Regions from separate parts of the Homo sapiens genome. Here all the other regions are linked to region 2. Evidence: promoter capture Hi-C in 16 types of primary human blood cells and fetal thymus (Javierre and others, 2016). All regions are on one chromosome and are shown on one strand. Each heading gives the region's core, a stretch centred on a gene start or on the middle of the fragment in contact. The rest is flanking DNA. Distances are from core to core; before and after follow the strand shown. Region 1 overlaps NAP1L4 (nucleosome assembly protein 1 like 4). Region 2 holds the start of KCNQ1 (potassium voltage-gated channel subfamily Q member 1). Region 3 has its middle 13 kb from the start of MIR4686.

Region 1 (3,324 bases), core at 675-3,174, 510 kb after region 2:
GCCCAAGACACCAGTCCCATCAAGTGACTCACTGACCAAGCCTAAGAGGAGCAGAAAGTCCAGCCACGCTGCCTGCTGGGCCTCGCTTGCCTGAGGAGCCATTTGCTTGTGTGCAGCGCATTTTAAAAGCATGCCAGGAAATTGAAAGTCACGCAAAACAAGGAATAGGATAGGAAGCTGGTCAGCCAGGGTGTACCCTGGACACAGCTGGGAACCTGGCACCACAGCTCTGCCCTGGCTGTTCTCACACCGAGGAGCAGGCACACAGGAAAAGATTTTTGTAAACCGATGAATTTGTTTTCCTTAAATTTTCTACAAGGCTGATCGAACCAGCAGCATAATGTTATTGGATACAGGAATCTGGGTATCATTTTACATCTCATACAAAGGGAAAAGAAACCTTAGTAGAAATATATTAAAACTTTGGTGTTTAATCTTTAAAGTGATCAATAAGGTGCTCAAAGGTGAACCTCCACCATTAGTCAATTGTCTTGAATCAGTTTCTCCTACATCCAAATACATCATTGGTCAGACTAAAAATCAAGTTTCAAACATGAGACTTACACCAAAAGCAAAACCACCTTATCACTACTGGTTGCATAACAAGGGTAGTGCATGAAAATGCAGCTTCATTTATCAACATTTCCCATTTTGTTGAGCTCACACCATGTATTTGCTTAGAGCCAACTTCGGTGGAACTTAGAAGGGCCCTACTGTGCTGGTGTGGAGTTCACACAGTGTGCACAGCCTCCTGGCGCCACGCAGCAGCCAGGATGAGATGTGGCCACGGTGCAGCGCCCTTCCGCTCTAAGGACCCTAACTGGCATCAGGCAGGGAAAGGCTTCTCAATATTCTTCCATTTCACGTCAGATCCAACGAGCCTCCAGCAGGCTCCAGGGCCTATTCCAAGGCTCTAAGGACAGCATTTTGCCCTTAAGGGGCTGTGCACAGGGGCTGCTCCAGATGCATCACCCACCTGGGCAGAGCAGGAGCTGCCACGTGCAGAGAAGACAAGACCAGGGTTCCCACATTCACCTCCTCCTCCAACAACTTTCTAGTGTTGGGGTACGGTCTAGAAAGTAACATTAGTAAAACACTTTATGCCAACACTTACTGAGTCATTGCTCTGTGCCAGGTGCTATGTTAAGGGCTTAACAAGTAACCAGAGTCTTTACCATGAGCTCTACTTACAGCTGAGGAAACTGAAGCTCAAGGAGGTGGTGGAGCTACTAAAGGGAGAATGGGGATGCGAGTCTGAGCAGTCTAATCTGAGCTGGCACTTCTAGCCTCTAACTGACACTGCTCATCAGTAGTACCTGTGCTGAACGTATTGTGAATGAAACGCACATGTACTATAAGCAAATGTGGCACAGTGCTCACCAGCAGTACAGATACCGCATATAAGTAAGCAAATAGCACACATGCATATTCAAGTCCTTTAAACTGACGGGTGTATGATCAAAACAGTTTCAGATAAGCTTTCCAATGTGTAGCCACTAGCCCTTAGCTCACTATTTAAATTTAAACTAAGGTAAATGAAATGTTCAGTTCTTCAGTCTCAGCAGCCATATTTCAAGTCCTCAAGTGGTCAGTCCTACTGCACTGGACCAAGCAGGCAGAGGACAGTTCCATCAACAGAGAAAGTTCTACTGGAAAGTGCTGGTCTAGAATTTGTAAAACTATGTCTTGGCAGCTACCTGACTGTCCATGTTCCCTGACCTGCAATCACCTCCCAACCTAGGGATGAGCCAGCAAGTTGAGTTTTAGAAGTTAAATGAACAGTCTAAGACCTAACAGCTGATAAAGAGCACGCTGGCCTATTCTCCCCACTGGTGGAACTCAGTACAATGGGAGAGGTGTGAGGAGATGTTGGCCTTTACTGCCACAGGGGGCTAAGGCCCTTGAACCCACCTAAGCTCTTGCCGCCCTGTCTGAAGCCCCAACAGACCAGACCTTCTAAGAAAAGAAACCTAAGAGCTCCACAAGAAAGAGAGTATCATCTAGAACATACTTCCAGTAACAGTCTATAAAACAAAACTTTATTTTCCACAGATCAAGAAGACTTGAAGCTGCTTGAGCCTTGGTGAGGATGGGAGTTTCTAAGCGGTACTTGGGCTGTGCACCCGCAAGTTCTGACTGTGGAAGAGCTGGCTTCCCTCAAGCCCAGAAAGGAAAGTGACATGCAATCTTGTTGTTTTCTTCGGGAGCACGGGTTTCTTTTTTTTCCTTTTTACCTAATTAGATAGAAGTTCAGGAATTTCTATTTCTTTTGGGTTGATGAACCACAGGCTAGCATAAGTCCACTGTCAATAAATGTTTGTTGTGGCCAGACCTCCATAAAAGAGATATTCCCTGTGTTCACAAGTTCCCTGAAGCTTAGGTTTTGAGAGAATATTGTTGAGTCACTAGGCAGGGCTCACATAGGAAACTGGCAATCACCTCTGAAACTGCTTCACAGACACCTGCTTTTCCTGCTCTGTTCCTCAGACTTCTCCTCTTCAAGCGTATTCCCCCCACAACAAGGACAGCAGCTTGGACTACATATCTGGCTGATGATGTAATAAAAAGATTAGGCATGGGGGTTTCCTAAGCCACAATTCAGGGCCACTCTGCACCAACAGAGATAAGCACCCAGGTGGAAGCCCCCCTTCCCCGAGCCTCATACATTGTCATCATCTTCTATGGCCTCCCCAGTGAAGTACAGCACAGCCCGCGGGACTATCCGCTCACGGAAAAAGTGTCCAATTTCAAAATCAGAGGCTAATGTGAATTCAGAATCTTCATCCTGAGGAGGAAAAACCTACGTGTTAACTCATTTTAATGGGATAAAAACATTCACTTCACCACCCTCAGCCAAACCTCAGCCCCTCACTTTTGATTTACTTAACTTAAAACACCAAACTCCTGCACTGCTGGGGGACAGCCACTAGACACTCAAAGCCCCTTTAAAACAACTTTAAGTAGCTTTAAAGAGCTACTGAAGCAAAATGGCAGAGAAAGTGGGAAGTGAGGGCCCTACAGCTCCACAACTTGTCCAAAGGTCTCACCCAGAGTAGGCGGTATCAGTCTCACATATGGGAAACAGGCAGTATTAAAGCACTGCACATTTGCTACTGAAATCAACATATGAAACACATACTTTTACTTAGATGTGTAATGATTTCAAATTAATCCCAGAGTTTTAGGAAACAGAAATGGATTTTTTTTTTTTAAGAGACAGGGTCTTATTCTATCACCCAGGTTGGAGGGCAGTGGTGCAATCACAGCTCACTCCAGCCTCAAGCTCCTGGGCCCCAGCGACCCTGGAACTACACAGTGCACCAC
Region 2 (3,086 bases), core at 446-2,945:
GGGGAAGGCAGAGACTCCATGCAGGTGTATGTATGTTCACCCGGAAAGTAACTGCTGAATGCGTGCTGTGTGCCCTGCAGAGCTGACTGACTGCCCCCATCTTCTGACCCGCTGCCCTTCTGCACCTTCACTGATATGCTTCCCAGGAAGGTACCCTCTCCTCGGCCTCCCTTGTGTTATCACAGCGCCCAGCACAAGCTGGGACCCACTCCATCCACTCTTGCTGCAAATACAGACTGTGCACTCCTGTGTGGCACCTCACTAGGGTGGGGAGTCAGGCGTCAAGGGCCTGGGCTGGACTCCGTCCACGATAAAAGAGCAGACTTTTGGCAGGGGGTGGTAGATACATCAAATTGACCCAGGGTGCTCAGGGACGACCTGGAAGTGTCACATGAGTTATGGGTCTCCTGGCGGGGCGGAGAGTCACCGCTGAGCTCCACCTTTAGTCCCTGCCTCAGGGCTGTGTGCAGTATCCTGAAAAAAGCCGGTCTCTTCTGTTGGCTGCCCCCCACCCCCCCCCCAAGCCTGAGACGTGCTGAGACCCAAATGCCAGTAGCGGGCGGGAGGCAGTGCAGAGACCTGTGAAAATCTTCCGATGTGACCAACCCACCCCCACCCAGGGGAATCCACGGGGCGCAGCGGCAGCGCGGTCTCGACGGTGGGGAGGACAAGGCGCCCATTCTCCAAGTTACTAGGGTGGCGCAAGCGCCTCTCCCTTTAACTGCCCAGGCAGCCCCGCCTGCTATGCCCGGCAGTCAAACCAGGTCCAGACCCCGGCTGTGCCGCCCCCACCCCCCAGCAGCCCTGCCGGCTCCCCACCCACACAGCTCCCACTGGGAGGTACCTGACAGTGGTGGTCCCATCTCACCCTCCCGGTCCAAGGGCCCTGGTGGGAAGCGACCCGAGCGTATTCGCCGCCCGCAGCTCGCGCGCCTGGGCACCCGGGGGCGCTCACAGTGATCGCGGGGCCAGCACACCCTCACCCAGGACATCCCTTTCCTCCCCCCAACCCCAACTCCGGAGTGGCTCAGAGGGAGGGAAAGTAGATGCCGGCACCCTACCCCGCCCCTCCTGCCCCCGCTGTGCCGTTCTCGGTCGTGGTATCGGCCAGGCCTTACCCCTTCCTCCCTGGCGCAGCTGGGGTCCTCCTCCGGGCCAGGCAGAGCAGGCGGGCATCAGAAGTGGGGGCCAAGCAGGTGGGTGAGGGCAGGGCAGGAGCAAGCAGGGGAGATGCAGACGGGGCGGGGCCAAGCAGGTGGGTGAGGGCGGGGCCAAGCAGGTGGGCGGGGAGGGGGCGGGGCCAGGCGGGGTAAATGCACACTGGAACGGGGCCAAACAGGTGGGCGAGGAGGGGGCGGGGCCAAGCGGGATAGATGACACGAGCGGGGCTAAGCAGGTGGGCTCGGGCGGGGGTGGGGGTGGGGGCGGGGGCGCAGGCGGGGGCGGGGGCGCGGACAGGCCAAGCCAGGGGGTGAGGCGGAGGCAGGGCCAGGCCGGTCCGTGGGGAGAGGGCGGGCCAAGCCGGTGGGCGCGGGCAGGGACGCCCTGTGCGCGCCGGACCGGCGGGGGCGGGGCGTGCAGGCGGGGGCGGGGCACGCCGTCCCATGGGACCGGCCCTCGGCCACTGCCCCCTCCGGCCCCGCCCCGAGCGCCCGGGCTGGGCCGGCAGCGGCCCCCCGCGGCGGGGCTGGCAGCAGTGGCTGCCCGCACTGCGCCCGGGCGCTCGCCTTCGCTGCAGCTCCCGGTGCCGCCGCTCGGGCCGGCCCCCCGGCAGGCCCTCCTCGTTATGGCCGCGGCCTCCTCCCCGCCCAGGGCCGAGAGGAAGCGCTGGGGTTGGGGCCGCCTGCCAGGCGCCCGGCGGGGCAGCGCGGGCCTGGCCAAGAAGTGCCCCTTCTCGCTGGAGCTGGCGGAGGGCGGCCCGGCGGGCGGCGCGCTCTACGCGCCCATCGCGCCCGGCGCCCCAGGTCCCGCGCCCCCTGCGTCCCCGGCCGCGCCCGCCGCGCCCCCAGTTGCCTCCGACCTTGGCCCGCGGCCGCCGGTGAGCCTAGACCCGCGCGTCTCCATCTACAGCACGCGCCGCCCGGTGTTGGCGCGCACCCACGTCCAGGGCCGCGTCTACAACTTCCTCGAGCGTCCCACCGGCTGGAAATGCTTCGTTTACCACTTCGCCGTGTGAGTATCGCCACCGGCGACGGCCGGCACGAAGGTGCTTCCTGAGAGCTGGTGTGGGGGAGCTCTGTCCCAGCGCCACCTGCCCCGTCGGAGCTGCGACCCCGGAGCAGAGGAGGGAAGGAAGTGGGGAAACGCAGAAACACAAACTCTGCACTCTCCCTTGAAGTTCAGAGGCGCTGCTGTGTCTGGGGGTGCGCATCTTCTCGCAGGCCCGGCGTGGGGAGGGAGCCGGCTGGGGAGGGGACCACCTGGAGCCCAGAATTTGGCTCCACACCTCCGGGAGGGTAGTCCAGGTGTGAATCCTTCTGGGAAGAGAAGCGTGCTGGGGAGCGCACCCTTGGGTGCAGTAAGATAACTCCTCAAGGTCGGCTGAGACTCGAGGCTCAGGAGCCCCCAAGAGAGAAGGCCCCTGATGTCCGGTGCCGCATCTCAGACCCCCTGAGGCCCAGGTGGACTCTGGGGCAGGGGGCTGTCCAGGATAGGAAGGTGACGGTGGCGGTGCTCCCTGAGGGCTCAGCATGCCACGGGCCGTCCCCACGGGCCCCACATTAACTAATTGAACCAAGCTCATGAAAACCTGGCTTGATGCAGAGAGCGGAGAGGCACGTTTGCAGCTCTCACTAAGAGGCAGCTGTGCTCCCGGAGAAAGCAGCGCTGGTAGCAGAGGCACCTGGCCCCCCTGTTACCAGGTGGTTCCAATTCCCGGTACAGCGTGCCTGAGCAGGGCTGGGCACTGGATTTCTCAGGGACAGGCCTGGGAAGTCACCTCCGGGAAGGTCCAGGCTGCTCTCCTCCATGCCTGCCTGGGGCCTTCCCCCGCTGCCCCAGTGGCCCTACTTCCTGGCTGCCCAGCCAGCGGCCTTTTGGTGTGGTGCCAGCCTCTGGCCTGGGAGCCTCTACCCAGACATCCCATG
Region 3 (3,489 bases), core at 70-2,569, 260 kb before region 2:
TAGAGGTGGCATTGTTGGGCCATGTTGGACCATTACACACTCCCCCCAACAGAGCACAAGACTTCCAATTTCTCTACATCTATATTATTTTTAATTTTAGTTACATGAGCAACAGATTCTCCTTTGAACACACACATACACACGTGCACAAACACAAATATAAAAAGGTGCGTGTGCTCCTGGCCCCCCAGCCTGGATACTGGAGGGTGAGCCCCTTTGGGGAGGAGGGAAATCATGAGCTTATGAGCTCTGGGAGCCCACATTCATGTTCTTAGGAATGCCCCAGCACCTCTCCCGTCACACTCCGCCAGCGCGACCCAACAGCGTCTGTCTTCCAGGTCATCATCCACGCCCGACATTACAAAGCTTGAATGACACTTCAGCGGCATCTCAGGTCCGCTTGCTTCCCGAGCATCTCTACTTCTCCCTCTCTCGAACGATCCCTTCACTTCCTCCCCTCATCTTCCCTTTGGAGCTTACACTTTTCCTGATGAGATGTGGGAATTCTTTACGCATTCCCGACATGAATCCTTTTCGGCAGGAAGTATCATCTCCCAGAGCCTGGTCCACCCTTTACCGTGTTTATGGAGACTGTGGTCATCAAGAAGGCTTGGCAATGATGTGGCTTCGGGGAGCCACGCTTGTCAACCGTCTCCTTTGTGGTTTCTGCCATCCGGATCTTGTCCAACAACCTACCCCAAAAACAGCAATGTTCCCCCAAAGAAGGGAAGCACCAGCACCTTTCTCGTGCACACTGGGGTAGGGGACTGTGTTCCCAGAAAAGCACATGTAATGTCATAGCGCAGTTTTGCATTTAGAAGCAATAGCAACCGATGGTCTATTGTTTCTCTTTTACAAACCACAGATGGTGGGCTGGGCAGAATCTTCTGAATTGGGGTGAATGTATCTGTGAGTGCCTGTGCAGGGGAGGCAGCATGGAGGGCATGGCCTCCAGGCAATGCTGATGCTGAGGTTTTGATGTTTATCAAAGGGATCAAGGGTTAGGAAGGCAGAGAGAGCTGTCAGCTCCACAAGCACTGAGATGCCGCAGGGAGCCCTGCGGAGGGAGCAGGCAGGCCATGCACCCCACCTTCCTTGGGGAGGGCCTGGGCGCCAGGGCTGGGCGACATGAGGAGGCTGACTCTGTCCAGGCCACCTCGGGATCCCCGCCCCCTGCGCCAGCGCGCCTCTGGAGTGGCTTCCCATTCGGACCAGAATGGGGACCCTCAGGCTTGCATCCTCTGAGGGTTCGTCTACGGGCACAGGGGGCCTGGGCTGGCCCTGGACTCGAGGCCGATGTCATTACCGCTGCCCTGACAGTGTCAGAGCCTGCGCCTGGCTCGCGCTCCAGAGAAGGAGCTGCAAAACTCAGCCTAGATTGGCAGTCTCCCAAGGAAGCTGGGCGAGGGCGTTCAGCTGGAGCTGGGGTGGGGGCATAGGGAAGGCGGTGGTGCCAGAGCGGGTTTGGCTGTTTGGAAGGGGGTGGGGATGGCAGGATCTCCAAATGACCTCCTCTGGAAGGAGCCCTTTCCTTCTAGATTCAGCTCCTGGGGTCCCCACCCTTATGATCCTCAGAGTGCTGTATGCCCCCTCCCCACTGTCCGCCTGGGCAGGGAGCAGTCACGGGGTGGAGCTGGCGTCCAACATCCTGGCCCCTCTTCCTGGCTCCCACCTGGCACCCAGGTGTAAATGGCTGTGGTTTGGGGCGTTCCAGTCCCTCCCCATCTGACCTCTGCTTGCCACCTTCTCCGATCCAGGCTATTGCCCCCTCAGCCCCAGGGCCTCTCACCTTCTCCACATCCCCACGGAGAGCTGGGAGTCCAAACAAATCCCACGGTCCATGCAGCCTGCCACAGCTCCATGAGACACCCAGGCTTAGTGAGGACCCCTGAAATGTGTACACAGGCCTCACGGTTCTTCCCAGCCACCCTCACTCTATCTCTTTCCAGCAAACACCTCCCAATACAGGTGCTTCATTGATTTCATCAAACGCACGTTGCCTTGGCCACTCTCTTACTCAAGCACTTTCAATGGCTCCCACTGCCTGAAAATGATGGCATGACCTCAGGTCTTGCCAACGCAGGGCCCCTGGTGGGCCGGACCCCCCACTCTCTAGCACTTCCCCTCCTCTGCGTCCTTCTGCTCACAACCCCCACGCTCCAGTCTCAGAGCCCATGGGAGGGGCCTCCTTTGACATTAGGAGTAAAATTTCCAGGCATTTTTAGACAACAACACGTTTGAATATTGACTCTGACCTGCCGTAGATGCCCCGGTAAGCTTATTTTATAAAGGACCCCAGCACAAAGGCCTTCTCAGCCTGATATCCCTGTGGGCACCACAGGATGGCGCCCAGACGCAAGCACTTGGGCAGCCTTCACCCAGAGGACGCACGTGTGCTCCCTCGGAGCCTCCAGGTGAAGCCACTGCAACCCCCGCTGAGGAGACAAAAGATGAGGGCGGCCCACCCAGGCCTCCCTGGAGAGGCTGCTGAAAAGGGCGGCTGCATTCGAAGGGCAGCAGAGGCAGGAGCAGGAGGCACGGCCGGGCGAAGGGGGCCCTTCCCAGGATGGCAGCCCGAGAAGGAAGCGGCGCCAGGCAGCCAGGGACTGACTGCTCTCCATGACAAGCTGCGAACACAAGATATCTAAGTGCGTGCACACACACAGACACACACACACACAAACACACCACACACCACATACACACCACACACCACACACCACACACACACACAGATGCACACCACACCATACACACACCACACGCCACATACAACACACACAAACCACACACACCACATACACACCACACACATGCACACCACACACACCACACCACATCACATACAAACACACCACACACAAACCACACATATACACACCATACACACAAACACCACACGCCACATACGCACACATACGCACATGCACACCACACACACAAACACCACATGCCACATACACACCACACACACACACCACACACCACATACACACAAGCTACATGCCACACACACCATACACACACCACACACAAACACCACACACACCTACATACATACCATGCCCCACATACACACAAGCTACACGCCACACACAACACACACAAACCACACACACCGCACATACCACACACGCCTACATACATACCACATAGACACAAACCACATGCCACATGCAACACACATAAACCACACACCACACACACACCAGACACTACACACACACCACACATACACACCACACACACCACACAACACACACACCTACATACACGCCACACACATGCCACACAAACTACACCAATCATACACACACACCACACACACCACACACCACATACACTACACACAATACACACCGCACACACAACACACTTACCTACATACACACCACACACATACACACCACACGCTACACACCACACACACAACCACACACACCCCACACACTCCACACATACCACACACACCATATACCACACACATCA

Evidence for each region. Contacts are between HindIII fragments. The CHiCAGO score rates a contact against its expected background, and 5 or more counts as called.
Region 1: a fragment that was not itself captured here is called in contact with the fragment with the promoter of KCNQ1 in region 2 in 1 of 17 cell types (naive CD4 T cells); the score reaches 6.1 in naive CD4 T cells.
Region 3: a fragment that was not itself captured here is called in contact with the fragment with the promoter of KCNQ1 in region 2 in 1 of 17 cell types (total CD8 T cells); the score reaches 5.1 in total CD8 T cells.

The regions. Positions count from the first base shown.
Region 1 is chr11:2,951,862-2,955,185 of GRCh38, forward strand. NAP1L4 (nucleosome assembly protein 1 like 4) reads right to left here. Exons shown (of 16, transcript NM_005969.4): 12 at 2,666-2,785. Among named protein-coding and RNA genes, the nearest start is that of SNORA54, 10 kb to the right of the region's middle. The HindIII fragment of the contact is 897 bases long and covers 1,477-2,373 here.
Region 2 is chr11:2,443,313-2,446,398 of GRCh38, forward strand. It overlaps KCNQ1 (potassium voltage-gated channel subfamily Q member 1), which reads left to right and starts at 1,696. Exons shown (of 16, transcript NM_000218.3): 1 at 1,696-2,172. The coding sequence starts at 1,787. It overlaps TRPM5 (transient receptor potential cation channel subfamily M member 5), which reads right to left and starts at 1,202. Exons shown (of 29, transcript NM_014555.4): 1 at 1,119-1,202. RefSeq lists silencers at 1,496-1,605, 1,616-1,685. The HindIII fragment of the contact is 13,739 bases long and covers 1-3,086 here.
Region 3 is chr11:2,184,519-2,188,007 of GRCh38, forward strand. No RefSeq gene overlaps it. Among named protein-coding and RNA genes, the nearest start is that of MIR4686, 13 kb to the left of the region's middle. The HindIII fragment of the contact is 1,911 bases long and covers 365-2,275 here.